6 separate regions of the Homo sapiens genome follow, and all the other regions are linked to region 1. The links are contacts of gene promoters, found by promoter capture Hi-C in blood cells and fetal thymus (Javierre and others, 2016). All regions are on one chromosome and are shown on one strand. The core of a region is centred on a gene start or on the middle of the fragment in contact, and the rest is flanking DNA. Distances in the headings are between cores, read along the strand shown.

Evidence for each region. Contacts are between HindIII fragments. The CHiCAGO score rates a contact against its expected background, and 5 or more counts as called.
Region 2: the fragment with the promoter of ZNF175 here is called in contact with a fragment that was not itself captured in region 1 in 3 of 17 cell types (activated CD4 T cells, fetal thymus and non-activated CD4 T cells); the score reaches 8.1 in activated CD4 T cells.
Region 3: a contact is called between the fragment with the promoter of ZNF649 here and a fragment that was not itself captured in region 1, in 7 of 17 cell types (non-activated CD4 T cells, activated CD4 T cells, naive CD4 T cells and 4 more). The highest score is 16.5, in non-activated CD4 T cells.
Region 4: the fragment with the promoter of ZNF613 here is called in contact with a fragment that was not itself captured in region 1 in 8 of 17 cell types (total CD8 T cells, activated CD4 T cells, non-activated CD4 T cells and 5 more); the score reaches 8.6 in total CD8 T cells.
Region 5: a contact is called between the fragment with the promoter of ZNF350 here and a fragment that was not itself captured in region 1, in 5 of 17 cell types (non-activated CD4 T cells, activated CD4 T cells, total B cells and 2 more). The highest score is 11.2, in non-activated CD4 T cells.
Region 6: the fragment with the promoter of ZNF615 here is called in contact with a fragment that was not itself captured in region 1 in 1 of 17 cell types (non-activated CD4 T cells); the score reaches 7.3 in non-activated CD4 T cells.

Annotation. Positions count from the first base shown.
Region 1 is chr19:53,519,256-53,522,443 of GRCh38, reverse strand. It overlaps a transcript of ZNF331 not described here. Among named protein-coding and RNA genes, the nearest start is that of ZNF331, 17 kb to the left of the region's middle. RefSeq lists enhancers at 398-1,171, 1,482-1,681, 1,172-1,945, 1,946-2,720. The HindIII fragment of the contact is 293 bases long and covers 1,167-1,459 here.
Region 2 is chr19:51,569,756-51,572,943 of GRCh38, reverse strand. ZNF175 (zinc finger protein 175) reads right to left here and starts at 1,661. Exons shown (of 5, transcript NM_007147.4): 1 at 1,469-1,661. RefSeq lists an enhancer at 1,940-1,999. The HindIII fragment of the contact is 9,759 bases long and covers 93-3,188 here.
Region 3 is chr19:51,903,372-51,906,559 of GRCh38, reverse strand. ZNF649 (zinc finger protein 649) reads left to right here and starts at 1,543. Exons shown (of 5, transcript NM_023074.4): 1 at 1,543-1,646. RefSeq lists enhancers at 277-901, 1,392-1,511, 1,230-1,774, 2,865-3,188. The HindIII fragment of the contact is 3,228 bases long and covers 192-3,188 here.
Region 4 is chr19:51,925,784-51,928,971 of GRCh38, reverse strand. ZNF613 (zinc finger protein 613) reads right to left here and starts at 1,500. Exons shown (of 6, transcript NM_001031721.4): 1 at 1,432-1,500. RefSeq lists enhancers at 1,562-1,861, 1,717-2,480. The HindIII fragment of the contact is 2,177 bases long and covers 609-2,785 here.
Region 5 is chr19:51,985,135-51,988,322 of GRCh38, reverse strand. It overlaps ZNF350 (zinc finger protein 350), which reads left to right and starts at 1,483. Exons shown (of 5, transcript NM_021632.4): 1 at 1,483-1,553. RefSeq lists enhancers at 1,317-1,556, 1,143-2,018. The HindIII fragment of the contact is 6,623 bases long and covers 1-2,018 here.
Region 6 is chr19:52,006,769-52,009,956 of GRCh38, reverse strand. It overlaps ZNF615 (zinc finger protein 615), which reads left to right and starts at 1,746. Exons shown (of 7, transcript NM_001199324.2): 1 at 1,746-1,816; 2 at 2,627-2,664. LOC124904755 (a long non-coding RNA gene) reads right to left here and starts at 1,659. Exons shown (of 2, transcript XR_007067321.1): 1 at 1,478-1,659. RefSeq lists enhancers at 1,236-1,315, 1,376-1,985. The HindIII fragment of the contact is 6,775 bases long and covers 1-3,188 here.

The sequences.
Region 1 (3,188 bases), core at 64-2,563:
CCAACATGGTGAAATCCCGTCTCTACTAAAAATACAAAAATTAGCTGGGCATGGTGGCGTGCGCCTGTGGTCCCAGCTACTTGGGAGGCTGAGGCAGGAGAATCGCTTGAACCTGGGAACCGAGATCGCACCACTGCACTCCAGCCCTGGGCGACAGAGCAAGACTCTGTCTCAAAAAAAAAAAAAACAAAGAAAGAAAATAGGGCACACTTGTCCCCAGACCACAGTTAAAATCAATCAGAAATAAGAGGGCACAGGCATGTGAGTTTTTCAGAGAAATGCTGGAAAACTCTAGGAACTGGGGTTCTGAAACATGGAGCTGCCCCTCTCACCACCTCCCCGCCTCCCATGTCAGGTACCTCTTTCTTCCCCAAAAGGAATTCTATTCTTGAGGTTACTTCCTCTTGTCGTCCAGGTAGTGTGCACGGAGAGCACTTCTGGCTCCAAAACTGCCATCTCGTGACTTGTGAAGCCTTCTTCTTGGTCATTTTCACAATAGCGTAGAGCCTCTCACGTCACTTTGGGACCACTGCTCCCTAGCAGGTACCACATGGCTGGAAGGCCAAGGCACAGGAAGCAACGGAGACACTAGAAAGACAGGTGACATGGTCGCACACACCTGTGCTCACTCAAAAGGCCATGCACCCAGGCCCGATCCCGACCAGTCACAGCCGCACACTCGCTGGCCCTTTCACACCCACAGACGCTCACACCAGAGGGACACTGCCTGTCCCTGTCAACCTGACAGAAGTGCAAAGGCACATTTCAGAGACACGGAGACCCGTCCTGGCCGTGCCACCTCTGCAGACCCCACCAGCATTGACCTCGCACAGAACGGAGGTGCAGAGACACAGCCCGGCTGCGTCACCCCTACAGATGCCCTTACAGCCCGGCGCTATGGCCCTCATAGACGTCTACACACACCTGTGTCACAGTTTATGGGGACAGAGCCCGGCCGCGTCAACCCCGCATGCATCACGGCTTAGGGGAACGGGGCTTGTTCGCATTACCCCACAGACGAAGACAATTATCTCAGTCACTGGGCCACGGCGGGGCCCCACCAGGCAGCCTCTGGCTTATTCACACACACACACACACACACACACACACACTCACACACACTCCCACTTCCCTGCTCGCCGCTCCCGAAGCCTCAGGCCGAAGCTTCTTCATTTTAGGGCCTCCGCGTCCCGAGTGGCTCCCTCACCGCCATTCCCCGCGGAACCCTGCCCTGGCTTCCTCCTGGGAGGCAAATAGCTCCCGGCTCGAGGCCTAACCACACCCAGCACATCAGGAGGTGAAACAAGGTCTCAGGCGCAGTTGGGATAAGATCCAGGAGAAACCATTTTTAAAAATCCCGCGAGCATGAAGCACGCCCCTCAGCCGGCCACCCGGCTCGCTCCTCATTGGACTGTGCCCCAAGGCCCTCTGGGAAATGTAATGCGAAACCAGAGAAGCTTCGACGCAGCTGGAAGGGCGCCCGTCAGTGTTTCCCAGCATGCAACTCTACACGGCGCAAATGGAGCCGTGACCCAGAGGCCTCTGGGAAATGTAGTCCATAACCCGGAAATCCACAGAGTTGGAAGCGGCTGTCAGGATTTCCCAGCATGCAACTCTACGCGACCCTAAGGGCGTCCTGCCTTGAGGGCTTCTGGGAAATGTAGCTCATAACCCGGGAATCGACGTATCTGGAAGGGCGCCCATCAGTGTTTCCCTGCAGGCAACTGCACACGGCCCTAATGGAGCCATGCCCCAGAGACCTCTGGGAAATGCTCACTACGCGGGAATCCTTAGCGCTGGAAGCGCGGCCGTCAGAATGCTTTTCGTCGGTGTCTCCTCCCACTGTTAGAGCAGCTGCACCCCCCATAGACTTCTGGGAAAGCGTATTTCAGACTGGCAGAATCTTCAAATGCTGGAAGCCCTGTCGGCCTTCTCCTGCCCTGAAACTTTGCTTGCTCCTAAGGCGCACCACAAAAAATTCCTGGGAAAAGTGGTTCAGGCTCTAGGGGCCTACAGTTATAATTGCTTACAACTTGCATTTGGGATCCGTCCATAGGGAAGGCGTGTCCCCGCGTCCTTCTGGGAAGGAAATGTAGTCTGAAACGACCAGAAATCACGCCTGTAATCTCAGCACTTTGGGAGGCCGAGGCGGGTATATCACCTGAGATCAGGAGTTCGAGACCCTCCTGCCCAACATGGTGAAACCCCATCGCTCTAAAAATGCAAAAATTAGCCAGGCGTGGTGGTGTGTGCCTGTAATCCCAGCTACTTGGGAGGCTGAGGGAAGAGAATCGCTTGAACCCAGGAGGCAGAGGTTGCAGTGAGCCGAGATCACACCACTGCACTCCAGCCTGGGCGATAAGAGTGAAACAATGTCTCAAAATAATAATAATAATAATAATAAGCCCGGAAAGCTTAAAAGCTGTGATTTGGGAAAAGTTCAAAAATTTCCCAGCATGCAACATGGCCCTCCTTAGAAAAGAGCTGTGCCTCCAGAGCGTTCTTGGAAATACAGCCCCGAGCTGGAAATGCCTCTAGAAAGTGTTAGGTAGGGTGTTTACATGTGAGATTTTGGGGACGTTTCAGCACTGCCCTTTCCCCCACCCCCCAGTAGATTGGGGAGCTCCAGGCATGTGTGTAGGGACCTTGAGTAGGTTCCACGGGAGTGACCTGGTCCTGACTGGGTCTGTGCCAAGGCTCTCTCTGTAAGGGCAGGACTTTGCGTTTCGTTCTCTGATGCTGTCCCAGACTTGGGAGCACTGCCTGGCTCTTCAGATGTCTCTGTGAGTGTTACCTTGGTATGGGCGGGAGAGGCCTGGGCTGTATGGCTTGCTGCCCGGCAGGATATTGACAAGATGTTCTTATGATCAGGCGGTTTGGCCCTTTTTCCGGTGGGATCTCATCAGGATGTTCCTTGGACCTTTGCCAAGAAAGATATGATAGGGATGGTTTTTGTAGTTGGGCCTTTGCCCAGTAGGACATGATGAGAATGTTTCTTTAATTGGGTCTTTGTTCGCCTTGTGGTCAGGTGGTTAGGCAGGATATTTCTCACTGCCTGAACCCCTGTGAAATGTTTCACTTTGACCAAGGTCTGCAAAAGAGCAGGGGGCTTCCGAAATGGTGCAATTTAGACAAACACTGGGGTGTGAGATGCTTTGCCCTAAAAAATATATGCTGTTGTTGGGAGA
Region 2 (3,188 bases), core at 412-2,911, 1.9 Mb after region 1:
GAGAATATGAAAATATTACTTTAGTTGTAGTTTCCAAAATGAAAATGCAGGTATTTATCACAGATGTTGGGAAACTTAACCAAGATGAAGCTTGTCAAGTCCTCAGTGCCTGCCTGGCACGTGATAAATATGAATTAAAAAAAGAAAGTTGTCAATTTAATTGTCAGCTAAATATCATGGGCATTATCATACCCATTTTGAGGATGAGGATAATGAGGCTGTGTGCTGTTACATAATTTGCCTGAAGGTTACTCAGTCTGTAAATGGAAAAACAGGGAATCAGCCCCACATCTGCCTTGTTCTAAACTGTACACTGTCTCCACTATCTCATGTACCCATACGTGGCCAGCTTCCAGAAACACCATTTCCTCTTTCTGTTGCCTTCATAGAACTCAGGCCGGGAGGTGGCTCTGTCTGGTGTACCTATTCTGAGCTTCTGGACTTTTCAGTCCCCGTCCATAATACACCACACACAGACCAGCCTCTTCTGACTAGAGCTAAAACTTAAAATCACTGTCCCAATCCCCATCTTGACACAGAAAATTTGCAGACATGCATCAGGGCCTCCAGTTACCATTTCTTGCCTGTCCACAATAAGTTGCCCCCACCGCACCTGAATGCAATCACTGACAGGACTGACTTTCAGAAATCCCCAATGAGTGTACTACAGGGCTGCCAGAAAGTTCCAAAATGCCTCCCAGTCACTGACATGGCACAGGCTTCTGAAATCTTTACTGCCCTGATAGCCAAGAAATGTTTCCCAGCGAGCACAATTTTCTGGTTTCCATAAAACGACAAATAATCCCCAACATAGGGGTCCAAATGAAATGCCCCAATAGGAAACCATCATCGATGTGCTCAACTGTCAATTACTGATCCTTACCATGTCCAAGGGACCCAAGAAGAGGCCAACACTGACCCACCCACCAATCCCTGAAGGACCCCAACACTCACTGCCTAGAAAGCAATGCATTCACCCTCACAAATCCCCATCATTGACCCCCTACGCCTCCAGTCAACTGGCTGCCATAGGCTACCCCTGGCAACCCCACTCTACTGATTCCTATAGGTTGCCCATCACTGGTCCCCTGAGAGTGTTACAGTGTGATCCTCAAAGTCCTCCAACCTCTGAAGCTCTTGGCTGCCAATCAATCACTGACTCCCCTAGTCCCACGGACAGTGAATCCCTTCCCTGAACGTCCTCCAGCACCATCCGCAAAGGCGCTCTTAAGATGCACGTTCACTGTCCTCAAGTTAGCAAGTTTCGTGGACCAATATAAAATCCGATATTAAAGTACACTTGGAATTTAAGTCACAAAAATACTACAAGCAGAAAATAAGCAAGAAAAGAGGGAAAATTAACAGGCTAATTATCCAACTAAAATTAGCAAACGCCACTTACCCCACAGCACCCATCACCCACCCCAGAAACCCCTCATCGCTCAGCCAAAACAAGCCCGTCACTCACCTCACAGCCTCGTCTTCAGCCGAGAAATCCCTTTATCACGCACCCCCACCCCCAACAAGCCCCTCATCACTCCCCCAAAGCCAGCCGCCCCTTCCTGACCCTACAGAACCCCCACTGCTAATATTCCCAATCACTTCAGCGTCCAGTAAGCGACATAGGCTTAGATCCACTTAACAACAGAAGCTAAATGGTCGCTCTAGGCCACTTCCGGTTTGGGTTACATTCCCGTTAGGATTTCCGTAGGCGCTGTTGAACCGCGCGCATGCCCACTAACACTTTTGAAGCTACGCTCCGCCAACAGTTATCATGGCGTATAACGGCGTACCTTTATTCCGCGGTTCATTCAACTTCAGAAACTTGGTAGGGAGGACGGCATGGCCGCACCCATACGGATTATGATATTGGAGGCCGCCATCGTCAAAGGGCTTTTATTCCGTACAGCCAAGGACAAATGGAATGTCACAGAGTAAAAGTCTTGGGTCCTACATTGGCAGGGGACCTATTCAATACTTGTGTATATATATTTCTAGGAGAAACTGACATGTATTCTGAAAAATACTTTTTCTCTATATTTTTCCCTCTGATTTAAAGACTTTTTTTTCCTGAATTGCTGAACAACTCACTGTCTTTAATAGCACTTTTGAAAATGTTATCTTTCTGAGAAATTGTATCTTTGTTATCCTTACACCATTGCTCTCTATACCTGGATGAACCTATTGATGAAGTAACCTACCAAGCGACCACCTGAAGAGAGAATTTAGGGCTCTTGGGACACTTCATTTAAAGAGAGGCGAATGAAAAAAATATAATCAAGTTAAAGGAAAAAAACACAATTACTGAGATCAATGTCAGCCAGCCCAACTGGGCAGAATTTTCAGGAAGAGGTTGTTCAATCAAATAAACAAAAATATATTCTAGAAGGTGAGTAATAGCAATCATAAAATTAAAAAAATGGCTGATTATGGGAAATAGGAGGCAGGGCTGAGTGAGGATCTGAAGGTGAAGATCTGAAATGATCCTTCTTTTTTAAAAAATAGTAATTTAAATATATTGCTTTCGTAGTTTGTGCCATTTTGTAGTTACCGATTTTACATTCTGTGTTCACAGCTTCTGCCACCCCATCTCTGCACTTAAAGCCACCATATTACTTTTAATTACTTCATACCTCATTTTTAGTCCATTTGAATAATAAAATAAGACTGCTTAGCCAATGAAGCATTTTTTTGAACATGGTTTCCCAGGAATAGTTGAGTTTTCACATTAGTATCTGAACCTAACTTTGTTACATGAAGCATGAAACCTGCTTTTATTTTAAAACATCAATTATATATTTACTGTAAGCAAATAGTGTAAAATCAATAAAAACACTTATCTTTATTATGTGAGAAAGTGTGACATTTTGTTTGAGTTACTAAGAAATTCCCCGGACTTAGAACTTTTGAATTTTCTCCACTTATAAATCTGAGACTATTCTTTACTGTGTCATAGGATTTACCCTACGGCTTTGGTACATTTTATTTAAAAAAAGGAAAATGCAGAGAGTGAAAATTGAGATAGAAGTAGGAGGCTTTAAGTACAACAGCCCCGCATGTGTATGTTCAGGGCAAGTTAAGGCGTCCCTCCACTGGGACATCTGTATATCTGTAGGATGAGGGGTAACTGCGCCCTCATACTCTTAGTGGGGCAGGCATACCCTAAGGTGACACCTACTGAGTCACAC
Region 3 (3,188 bases), core at 294-2,793, 1.6 Mb after region 1:
AGTGGGTCCAGGGGACCGGTGCTCAGCATACAGAGGACCCGCGCCGGCACCGGTCTCTGAGTCCCTCAGTATTTATTGATCATTATCTCTACCATCTCGGAGAGGGGGATGTGGCAGGACAATAGGATAATAGTGGGGAGAGTGTCAGCAGGAAAACATGTGAACAAATGTCTCTGTGTCATAAACAAGCTTAAGAAGAAGGTGCTGTGCTTTGATATGCACATACATAAACGTCTCGGTGCATTAAAGAGCAGTATTGCCGCCAGCTTGTCTCACCTCCAGCCCTAAGGCGATTTTCTCCTATCTCAGTAGATGGAACATACAATCGGGTTTTATACCGAGACATTCCATTGCCCAGGGACGAGCAGGAGACAGATGCCTTCCTCTTGTCTCAACTGCAAGAGGCCTTCCTTCCTCTTATACTAATCCTCCTCAGCACAGACCCTTTACGGGTGTCGGGCTGAGGGATGGTCAGGTCTTTCCCTTCCCACGAGGCCATATTTCAGACTATCACATGGGGAGAAACCTTGGATAATACCTGGCTTTCTGGGGCAGAGGTCCCTGTGGCCTTCCGCAGTGTATTGTGTCCCTGGGTACTTGAGATTAGAGAGTGGTGATGACTTTTAACAAGCATACTGCCTTCAAGCATTTGTTTAACAAAGCACATCCTGCATAGCCCTAAATCCATTAAACCTTGAGTCAACACAGCACACGTCTCTGTGAGAACAGGGTTGGGGGTAGGGTTACAGATTAACAGCATCTCAAGGCAGAAGAATTTTTCTTAGTACGGAACAAAATGGAGTCTCTTATGTCTACTTCTTTCTACATAGACACAGTAACAGTCTGATCTCTCTTTCTTTTCCCCACAGTGCACTGTTGTTAGTGCTCCAACCTCACAGTGCAGGGGTTGAGGTGTCAGGAGAGGGAACACATCAGTGCCATTTCACTGTCTCCTGTGTCAAAGCAAAATTAAAATGCAGACCAGAATTCAAAAACTCCTGAGCAAACAAAACCCAGTAGGCCTTAAAAACAGCCTTAACCTTGCTTAACCTGCAAACATAAGCAACAATTCACTTGAGTCATTTCTGGTAAATGCTTGTGTTAGGGAAGGACAAAACTCAATCTCAACCGATCAAAAGTAGGCAACTCACATGCTATTATGTCATTAGGGACTTTCCAAGGCAAATTTAAAAAAATGCATTTTTATAATTGTAACTAATCAAATAATTTCTTTGTTTTACTCCTTCACTCACCCTGTGAATACTTGTGTCTAATGCTTTAAGCATAGAAGCGCGAGACTTCTTTTGGTTTGATGCTTCCTAATTCATGAATTGCTGTTTGTTCAGATAAACTCTAGAAAATGCTCCTGCGCCTCAAATTTTTGCTTTCAGGAGAGTCATCCCGGTTTAATGACACAAGAACAACTGTTTCCCTTCTGTACGGCAGATCTACCAAGATGGCCGCGCCCAGAGAGCCGTGGCTCAGGGCGCGGACATGTTACCTCCTCGAAGAGAAGCCCATGTCCCATCGTCCTAGCGCGGCAGAATTGACTCGCGCCCTCGTCCGCCGCCATAGGCCAGTGCCGGGGTTTAAGGGCCAGGAAAGGAAGCATTCAGGGAATTTAGGTGTAGCCAGAAGAAAATCAGGTGAGTGTTTGGGTCTCTCCGTGGAGTAGGTTAAAGGGGTAGGGAGCTTCTGAGGAGCCTGTGGGGAGAGCTGGCGGCCTGGGCGGTGGAGCCTTTGGGTTGGGGTGCCTTTGCGGTCCGGCGTGGGAGAGTTCTTGTGGTCGGGCGTTAAAGGTCTGTCGAGTTCAGCGACTGAGACTCGGCGTCAGAGTTTGGGGTCTCTGAGGGTCACTCTGTTAGTAGGCCTCTGGATCACTGGATGGAGAACTCTAGGGGGACGCTGCCCAGCACGCCGGCTTTATCACCGACGCCATTATTATCACTCCAAATGCTGCAGTTTAAAGTCGGTGATGAAGCCGGGGTGCTGGGCAGCGTACGAGGGTGTGTGGTGTAGGTTTTGGGGTGAATCGGGGATGTGTGTTAAGTGTTTCGGGGAGGCCCAGGCATGTGGGGCTCAGAGGCTTGTAAAATCTGGTATTTTACAAGCCCAGGCCCCTGGCTGGGGTTGAGTTGTGAAACTATAACCGCCCACCCTTGCCGGCTGCCTAGACAGAGCCGACTTGTTAAGACAGGGAAATTGCAATGGAGAAAGAGCAATTCATGCAGAGCCGGCTGTGCGGGGAGACCGGAGTTTTATTATTACTCAAATCAGTGATAAAAGAAAAATTGAAGCCGAATTAAATTTACAGGAGTTTCCTTGAGCAATGAACGATTCGCGAATTGGGCAGCCCCCAGAATCACAGCAGATTAACAGAGACTCCAGGGGTGCCTCGTGGTCAGAACAAATTTATAGACAAAAAAGGTAAAGTGACATACAGGAATCGGAAGCGAGGTCCAGAAACAGTGAGATTGGTTACCATTCGGCGTTTGCCTTATTTGAACGCAGTTGGAACATTCAGCAGTCTATGAGTATGGCCGCTGGGACTGGCCACCACTCAGCTATTGTTACAGGTGCATACGATTAAGTTCGGTTTTCAATTTTGTCTGTTAAGCTAGGTTGCAGTTTATCCACAAGGACTCAAATATAGAAGTATGGAGTCGTTCTCAGGCAATATTTAGTTTGCTTAAGCATCAGTCTCCTTGAGCATTTGGGGATCAAAGTTTCCTCCTATCCCCCAGACGGAATCTAGCTCTGTTGTCCAGTCTGGAGTGCAGTGGTGCGATCTCAGCTCACTGCAACCTCCGCCTCCTGGGTTCTAGCGACTGTCCTGCCTCAGCCTCCCGAGTGGCTGGGATTACAGGCGCCCGCCACCACGCCCGGCTAATTTTTGTATTTTTAGTAGAGACAGGCTTTCACCACGTTGGCCAGGCTGGTCTTGAACTCCTGACCTCAGGTGATCTGCCCGCCTCGGCCTTCCAAAGTGCTGGGATTATAGGCATGAGCCATCGCGCCTAGCTATGATTGTTACGATTTATAAGAAATGTATAATCGATCTTTGTCCTGTTTCCTGGCACATGTCTCCCAAAAGCCTTGGAACCTCTTCAGTAAACAGTGCCTTTTTGTGTGGCATTGAGATGGCTGGTGACTGGGGGCTTCTGGCTGGCCTTAGGACGGGGGAGGCT
Region 4 (3,188 bases), core at 251-2,750, 1.6 Mb after region 1:
ATTCACACAGTAAACCTGAGGAAGAAGAACGAAAATCTTTAATAGAAACCTTATCATTTTCTTCGTTTTGTTTTTTCCTTTTTCTTTTCTCCTTTTCTTTTCTTTTTTTTTTTTTTTTGAGGCAGGGTCTCACTCTGTTGCCCAGGCTGGAGTGCAGTGCTCAATCATAGTTCACTGCAGCCTAGAACTCCCGGGGTCACGTGATCGTCCCACCTCAGCCTCCCGAGTAGCTGAGACTACAGGCGTGTGTTACCACACCCAGTTAATATTTGTATTTTTTGGAGAGACAGGCTATGTTGTTCAGGCTGATCTCCAACTTCTAGGCTCGAGCAATTCGCCCACTTTGGCCTCCCAAATGCTGGGAATATAGGCGTGAGCCACCGCGCCAGGCCACCTTACCATTTTAGATTTGATTAATCTTTGATCTTCCCCAAAGCTTTCCTATTTACCAGGATGAGAGAAAGGAGAGATGTGAGAAGTCAAATGAGATTTGTAAACCAGTCCTTGCAGAGAAACTTAAAAGGGACTGAGAGGGAATGTACCGTTGGACCTGAACACACACACCAATCAGGATGCCCTGGCTGCCAAGGCTTCAGCCTTCACAAGCTTCTCCACGACTGTCACATCTAGACCTCCCTAACATGGTCACACCCCCTTAGATTAATCCAAAAACCTGGACCACACACCTAGGTTCACATGAACCCGGGCTCCTCCTCACTGAGTCGCATATTAAATCCTGATTACAGCCTGGAGCGAAGGCTCACGCCCGTAATCCCAGCACTTTGGGAGGCCAAGGTGAGAGGATCGTTTGAGGCCAGGAGTTGGAGACCAGCCTGGGCAACATAGTGAGACCCCCGTCTCTGCAATAAACAGATAGATTAGATAGATAAATTAGATAGATAGATAGATAGATAGATAGATTAGATTAGACAGATTAGATAGATAGATAGATAGATAGATAGCGTGGTGGCGCTCACCTGTAGTCCCAGCTACTCGGGAAAGCTGAGGTGGGAAAATCACCTGAGCCCCGGGAGATGGAGGCTGCAGTGAGCCACGATTGCGCCACTGCACTCAAGCCTGTGTGACAGAGCGAGACCCTGTCTCAAAAATAAAAAATAAAACCCCGAATCCGAAGCAGACACAGTTTTCCTTGACAAAAACCACTCCTCACTCCAGTCCTCAATCACCGAGCCCTACAGAGTGACCCGCAAAGGCACCAAACCCTGATCACGGACTTCCAAGTGTTGCTCTGGACAGACTCTGACCACCGACCACTGGGATCCCTCAGGGCTGACTCCGGAGACGCCCCAACCCCAATACCCCGACTCCCACTTGCTCCCGCTTCCCCCACAAACTCCACGGCTCCGCACTAAACGGACGCCCACAGACACCCTCCTCCCCTCATCCTGACAGACAGACCCACACACAGACCTGATTTTGCGGGGAACCCACCGAGACTTCCCAGAACCTGCACTTTCCTGAATTATTCCACTTCTGGGCCCTCCCCCAGCCTCCAAGCCGGCCTACGGCGGCCGAGGAAGGTCTGAAGTTGCAGGTGTACGGAGCACGGACGACTGGGAGGTAGTAAGTTCGCGTCCTCTCGTCACGGATACTGGAGGCAGCCATCTTTGAATCCTGCACGTACGGAAGGTAAAGTGGACCTTTTCTGCCCAAGTATTCAGGGATAGCGCGGGACGGTGAAGAACTCCATATTTTGGCACCTAAATCCTGCGCCCAAGTTTCATTTATTTTCAGAGGGTCGAGCTTAGCCAAGACAAACATGGTATGGCTACGTGCACCTTAGCGGGCTGGGGAGAAAAGTCATCCGCTTTGCACAAAGAATGACGGGAATGACACAATGGGCGCGGCCATCTTAACACTTAGGTGTCCGTACAAGTGAAAACGCTTTCTCCACAGAGGAAAAAGAGCAATCGCACCCTGAGTCATATACCGCGAAAACGCATCTAGCTACATGTGGAGGACAAGAGGAAGATTTTTGAGGACCAAAAGGGTGTGGAGAGGCAATCGAGGTACGAGGATATTGTTCACCCCGTCAACGGAAAGTGAAAAAACAGCGACCCCTGGAACCTCATTTACATTTGAGGGACACGGTCACCGCCCAGTGCAGGTAAAGAGAGCAGCCACCAGCCAACCGGAAAAGGAATCCAATGCGGGAGGCGGGAATTTTCCTTAAGAGAGAAGAAGGGCCTTCCCTCTGCTGTAGGTGGAGTCAATCTTAACGTCGGGGCTTTCGGAGAACCAAGTGCCTAAAATTCTGGAAGGAATAAATAAGGCGACTCTGGGAGAATGAAAAGTTGTGCAAGCCCGGGCGCGATGGCGCACACGTGTAGTCCCAGCTACTGGGGAGACCAAGGCAGGAAGATCGCTTGAGCCCAGGAGTTCCAGGCTGCAGTGAGCTATGATCGCACCTATCAATAGCCACTGCACTACACAGCCTTGGCAACCCCTTCATGAGGAAAAAAAGAAAAAAGAAAAAAAAAAGTTGTGCAAGAAAAGTAATCATAGGATACTACCTGACTGACCTATAAATATTATTTACATAGTCATCATAACGTAAATTCTAATTCTGATCCAACCTAAATTAAGACAATTCCATTGGAAGAATGAGAAGGAAATTCCTGCATGCAGTGGAGTGTTTATATTTATAACAGAGTTTTCACGTGTCCTTCATGATACATCTATAGAAAATGCCCCAAAATGCAAACTCCATTTCAGAAACATACCGTGTTACTTAAAATATCAAATCTGTGAAGAGTGAAAAGCTTTACAGAACTATATGACTCCTTAGGAGAATTGCAAAATAAAAGCAAGAATCTTATGACTCAGGAATTCCACTCCTAGATACTTATACAACAGTAATGAAATGATATGTCCTCACAAAGACTCACAAGAATGTTCTTAGCACCTTTATGCATAATACCCTGAACAGGAAACAGTCCAAGTGTCCATCAGTACATGAATGTATAAGCAAATTGCAGTGTAATCATACCCTGGAATACTACTGAACAATAATAAAAAACAAATCATAGATGCATGCACCAACATAGATAAATCTCAACAACCTTATGAAGGGGGCCAGCCTCTCCACACCTGTGGGTATTTCTCATCTGGTGGGATGAGAGACTGAGAAAAGAAATAAGACACACTGACAAAGTATAGAGAAAGAA
Region 5 (3,188 bases), core at 234-2,733, 1.5 Mb after region 1:
CCAAAGTGCTGGGATTACAGGTGTGAGCCACCGTGCCCCACTTCACTTTCTTAAATGTTGTGTTTAGAAGCACAAACTTAAAAAAAAATCAAGTCCACTTTATTAATTTTATTTTGTTTTGTGGGTCATCCTTTACTCTCCTCTCAGAATTAACTCACGTCCATGAGGATTATCTCCCTTTTCCTTCTCTAAGTTTTATACTTTCTCTTAAACTTAGATCTATGATCTATTTTGAGTTAACTTTTGTGTATGGTTTGAGGGTCCTAACTCATTTTTCTGGATGTGGATATCCAATTATCCCAGTGCCGCTTGTTGAAAAGACTATTCTTATTGAATTGTCTTGGCACTTTTGTCAAAAACTCTTAACAATATTTTTATACTCTCAATTCTGGCTCTGCTCTTCCCATTGGCACCTTTACTAAAAGTGGCCTTTCTAGGAGGCCCAATTCCTTTAGTCTGTCGTGGCCAGGCTCACATCGTAATTCATTCTCAAAATCTCTTTTCTCTCCTCTCCTCTCCTCTTTTCTCTTCTTTTCTCCTCTTTTCTCTTCCTTCTCCTCCTCCTCTTCCTCCTTCTTCTTCTTCTTTTTTGTAAATAATAATCATTTTTTCGAGGCCAGGCGCGGTGGCTCACACCTGTAATCCCAGCACTTTGGGAGGCCGAGACAGGCAGATCACGAGGTCAGGAGGTCGAGATCATCTTGGCCAACATGGTGAAAGCCAGTCTCTACTAAAAATACAAAAATTAGCTGGGCGTGGTGGCGCGTGCCTGTAGTCCCAGCTACTTGGGAGGCTAAGGCAGGAGAATCGCTTGAACCAGGGAGGCAGAGGTTGCAGTGAGCCCAGATCTCGCCACTGCACTCCAGCCTGGCGACAGAGCAAGACTCCGTCTCAAAAAAAATTATAATTTTTTTCTTTCTTCACCACCCGCCCCCCCGAATACCTGCTATTTTTCTGTTCTTAAAAACCGCTTCCTGCAAGCTAATTTTCGCCAGACGCTTTCCCGTGGGTGTCTGCCTACCTGATGTGTTGCCTTTTCCCTTTCTACCTGATCTGTTACCTTTTCCATTTCCAATTCATTCTCTGGGATACCTACACCTGGCTGCACTGTTACTTGTCTTTTTCAAAACCTTTTTTTTTAAATTTAACAAAGTGGATGGAAAAGCGCTAAAGGCAATTTAGCTTGCCCCATATTTGCCTGATAAAGCCTGAGTCTCTGAAAATCTGCCCCCTTTCGCAAGACTTTAAGTGCCAGGAAACGAGGCGATTTCAGTGACTTCTCTTCTTCCCTGGCTCCTGGCTCAAAAACCTGCCACTGCCTTCTGTGCGTCCAATTTTCAAACATGGCTGCCGTCAGGAGCCACGGCTATGGGCGCGGCCATTTTACAGAGTAGGAAATGCCGTAAATGCGCTTGTCCTTGCTCTTTTAAACATTTTAGGTTCTCCTCGGCCGCCGTAGGTGGACCATAAACCCGTGCGAGGACTCCAGAAGTAGGAGCAGTTTACGGAAGTGTAACGTTGAGGCCCTTCTTGTGTATCTGGAGAAAATAGAGGTCAGTGTGTGGTTTTGTCCCTGAAAGTTTTTTGTCCTAGTTCAGGTTTTGTCTCAGTGGAAGGTTTGGGAGATCTGAGGACGTGGTGTACCCTGGACCACATAGTTTTTGGCAGGAAGACTGGGGAGCGCCGGGGTATAGGCATTTGGGAGGTACCTGGTGGGAGTCTGTGATCCCCCTGTCTGTGGTCCGCGTGCCTTTGGTGTGAGTACAGTGACTAAGGGTCTGTAGTGATCAACGGCCGTGTCCTAACTGTCAAGGTATGGATCACTCTGCTTGTAAAGGATGGAGGTGGCGATTAGGATCGATGCGGCGTCTGCTTCGGGTTCAGGATTTAATTTGGAACTCAGTGATGTTGGAGTCTGGGAGGATGTCCATCGCTGTAGAGTGTCTGGTCCGTGGTTCGGATGAGTAAGAGGCATGGGGCCAGTGTCTGTGGTACAAAGGCTTGTGAGGGCTGAAGCTTTCGAGACTTTGGAGCCCTGGGTCCTGGGTTGAGGTTCGAACCTCGGTTACTGGGGCAAAAGGCGACACAGCCCCCAGCATTAGTTCGAAACCATATATCTACTCTTCTGATCCTTGGGGTGGCTATTTACAGATCGGGGGGTCAAGTTCAGTCATACCCTCCGATTATATATTGTCTATGGCTGCAAAGGCAGCGGTTGAGTTGTTGTGACAGAGACCTCGTGGCCGGCAAAATCGAAAATGTTGCCAACCTCTGCATTCACTTCTTTTATTTTTTATTTATTTTTTTTATTTTTTGAGACGGAGTTTCACTTTTGTCTCCCAGACTGGAGTGCAATGGCGCGATCTCGGCTCACTGCAATCTCCGCCTCCCGGGTTCAAGCGATTCTCCTGCCTCAGCCTCCTGAGTAGCTGGGACTACAGGCCCACGCCACCACGCCCGGCTAGTTTTTGTATTTTTAGTAGAGACAGGGTTTTACCACGTTGGGCAGGTTGGTCTCGAACTCCTGACCTCAGGTGATCCGCCCACCTTGGCTTTCCAAAGTGCTGGGATTACAGGCGTGAGCCACCGCGCCCGGCCTTCACTTCTTAATATATAGTGAGTGTTGCTTGCCCGCCTTATATTCACACTTTCTTAACAGAATCTCCATTTCGTGAAGTATTCATCCCTGTGGCAAGGCGACCCAAATCCCAGTTTCTTAGTAAGGCCTTGTTGGTCTTAGCCAATCTTGCTGGTTCCAATTGCCATTGCTAGTGATAGGTTTGACATGGAAATGAGCTTAGGCGTATGGTGCAATTCTAGCCAACTATGTATGTGAAAATCTGCCTGGGAGTTTCTGAGGGAGCATTTTCTTTTTTAAATATGTAATTTCTTGAATCTCTTTTTCCATGTTCGTGATGATATCGCCTGAAAATAACATTAATTTTCTGTCTTACTTTGTAATGCTTATAATTCATTCTTATCTTAATGCATTGGCTCAACTTTCCAGTATAAAGTAGGAAAATAGGGTGTTAGTGGACGTTCTTGTTTTATTACCCACCTGTAAAATTCACCCGTTGTGTTGTCTGGAGTTAACACCTTTCCTGGAGGTAAACTGTTTGGTATGGTTGATCTCTTCCTTTACTTTGTTAATTTTTCTACATTTATATATTTTAAATGTACAATTTAAT
Region 6 (3,188 bases), core at 497-2,996, 1.5 Mb after region 1:
ACAGGCCTGAGACACCATGCCCAGCTAATTTTTTTTGTATTTTAGTAGCTATGGGGTTTCGCCATGTTGGCCAGGCTGATCTCAAACTCCTGAACTCAGGCAATCCTCCCGCTTTGGCCTCCCAAAGTGTTAGGATTACAGGCATGAGCCACCGCGCCCATCTTTTTTCTTATTTCTTTTCAGATCTCTTTATAGGCCGGGTGAAGGGTGAAGTGGCTCACACCTGTAATCCCAGCACTTTTGGAGGATGAAGTGGGAGGACTGCTTGAGGCCAGTTCAAGACCAGCTGGGCATCATAGTGAGACCCTTGTCTCTACAGAAAATTAAAAAATTAGCCAGGTGTGGTGGTGCCCACCTGTAGTCCCAGCTATTCAGGAGCCCAGGAGTTCCAAGTTACAGTGAGCTGTGATCTCCCCAGGCACTCCAGACTGGGCAACAGAGTGGACCTTGCCTCAAAAAGAGACAAAAAAAAAACAAAAAAAAAGAAAAACTCTCATATACCAAGGGTGAGAAGAGCAAATGGAACACGAACTTGACTCTGAAAAATAGTTTGACAATTTCTCTGTATATTTATATACTGATACCTATATCACACACATAGATTCACACAGGCATTTCCTTTCTCTCATTCTTCTAATATAGGAAGTTTGGTTGGATTTATATTTACAGTTCAGCATTGCCATGACTTTGCACATACTATTCGCGGTTGGCACACGTAGTATAACGTGATCTCCTTCTTAACCTTTCTTTCTTTTGTTTTTTTTTTGAGATGGAGTTTTGCTCCTGTTGCCCAGGCTGGAGTGCAATGACGCCATCTTGGCCCACAGCAACCTCCGCCTCCCGGGTTCAAGCGATTCTCCTGCCTCAGCCTCCCGAGTAGCTGGGATTACAGGCATGCGCCACCATGCCTGGCTAATTTTGTATTTTTAGTAGAGACAGGGTTTCTCCATGTTGGTCAGGCTGGTCTCGAACTCCCGCTCTCAGGTGATCCGCCCACCTCGGCCTCCCAAAGTGCTGGGATTACAGGCGTGAGCCACCGCGCCCGGCCTCTTTCCCAACCTTTTTTTTCTCACTGAAGTGGTCCTGTTCCCTTAATTTCTGGCCACTTCTCCTGAGTCCAGCCCTCATATTTGGCTCCACCTGGGTCCCAGGCTCTCCCCTCCGCCTTGGGAACTATACTTTCTGGCTTTTACTGGCTTTTCCCCATGCCTTTCACCCAACATAATTTTGGCACGTTCCAACCGTTTTCATTACCTAGTCTGTGACTGCTACCCCTGTTCCGTCAGCGTAGCTAACAGCCCTCTTCTGCGTTCAAAAGGCGCTTCAAGCTACTTTGTTAGAAATCTGGCTTTGGCCGAAGTGTCCCCTCTCGGCCGGTTCTCCTTTTCCCTCACAAGGAACTGTTTCCTAACCTTTGTACAAAGTGTAAACGTCGCGGCCATCTTAGCCTTCTATTCAGCTGCTGAAAGGGATTTACCTCCACGCCATTTTTGTCTTGTGTAAACTGGAGCCTCTGTATATGGACCCGTATTTATGAAGGGTTGAGGTGCCAGGAAATGGGACAGTTTCAGTGCTCTTTCATCTTCCCGGCCATCCCCGGTCACCCCCGGTCACCCCCGGTCACCAGCGCCAAAACGCGCCCTTTGCCTTGTGTACGTCAGATACTCAAAGATGGCGGCCCCCATGGAGCCAAGGCGACGAGGGCGCGGCCATCTTGCATCTGCGCAAACGCTGGGAACGCCTCCGACCCTGGATAGTCGCCGTCAGGCACTGAGGAGGCCGAGAGATGAGGCCGGAGCCCACCAAGTTCTGGGAAGTAAGTTCAGTCACTGGGTGGTCGCTGTGGTGACGGGGGAGGAAATTCTGTCCGTGGCTGGGCGTGTTCGTGGACAGTGGTGATGGACTGGTATCTGTCGGCGCCAGCGTTTGGCGACGCCAGTGGAATTCTTTCAGGAGCTTAGCGTGGGTCCGATTCCTATCGCAGGGGAACTACAAGAGGTCCGTGATAGGGTGTGTGTGTGTGTGATCGGGGTACCTCTGGGACCAGTCACAGGGTCCTCGTGTAGTTTGTGGTTAAAGATCTCTAGAGATCCGCTACTGAGTGCCCAAGTCACATTCTGGTGTCTTTGGTGTTGTCCTTTGGCGGGGCTCAGTGATTGCGAACTGGAGGGTTTGTTTTGTCAGCGAATCGGTTTATGGTTCAGGTTTTGTTTGGGACTAAATGATTGAGGAACTGTCTTGGGGGTTAAGGTACGGAGGTTTCTGATCCAGGTTTTGGAATTAATCCCGGTGGCGGTGGTGGTAGCGCCACAGATTCCGATGTGGGCTGCAGCTCTGGAGGCCTGGGAACCATGGCAGGTGATGGGTTAGCCCCAGCCCTGGCTGCTGGAACAGAATTGATGCTCATTAGCATTCCCCTTCTGCCCAAGACCCTTCTCCACGACTGGTTTTTAAATCCCCTTTGGCACCTTCCATCACCCCTTGGTCTTGAATCCTCAGAAATGGAAGTTTTTGGCGAGATCAGTCATCTAGCATACCTAAAAGTAGTATGTTTTATATTTAAGATGCGGCTTCTACCCTTTGTCCTGCAAGTTTCCAGCGTATCCTCTTGGATATTTCTTTTCAGGTTCTTTCTGACACAAGTAAGATAACATCTCTGCCATGGTAAGCTCGGTTACTCAAAGATAACCTTTGTCAAATTTTCAGAATATTTCAATTTTAGACGTGTATGTTATGTGCTTAATATTCATAATTCAGATAAATTATGTAAATGGTACTATTATCTTTTTCGCTTTATATTATGTAATAAACATTTAGAAGTTGTTTTTACTGTTTGAGCCGGTGGTACTATAAGTGCATTCACATTAAGTTTATGCGTACATTTGGATAGAAGTGAAATGTTTTAAAATGTTTAGGTATTATTTTTAGGAACATTTTATGATTATCCATTTATCCATGAATTTTGTTTTTCCTGCCTTTAATCTTCAATCTAGACTATTACTTTTATTGCAGTGTATTGCTTTCTGACTCCCCTTTCCTTATAATCTATAACAAAAGATAAATTAATTTTAAATATTTATTTTATATTTGGTCATCTTAATTCTTAGTATTACAATATTTTTCTCTCTGCCTAACATATTATTTTGTGAAAATTTTTGAACCTATGGAAATATTGAAAGAAGTTTAAT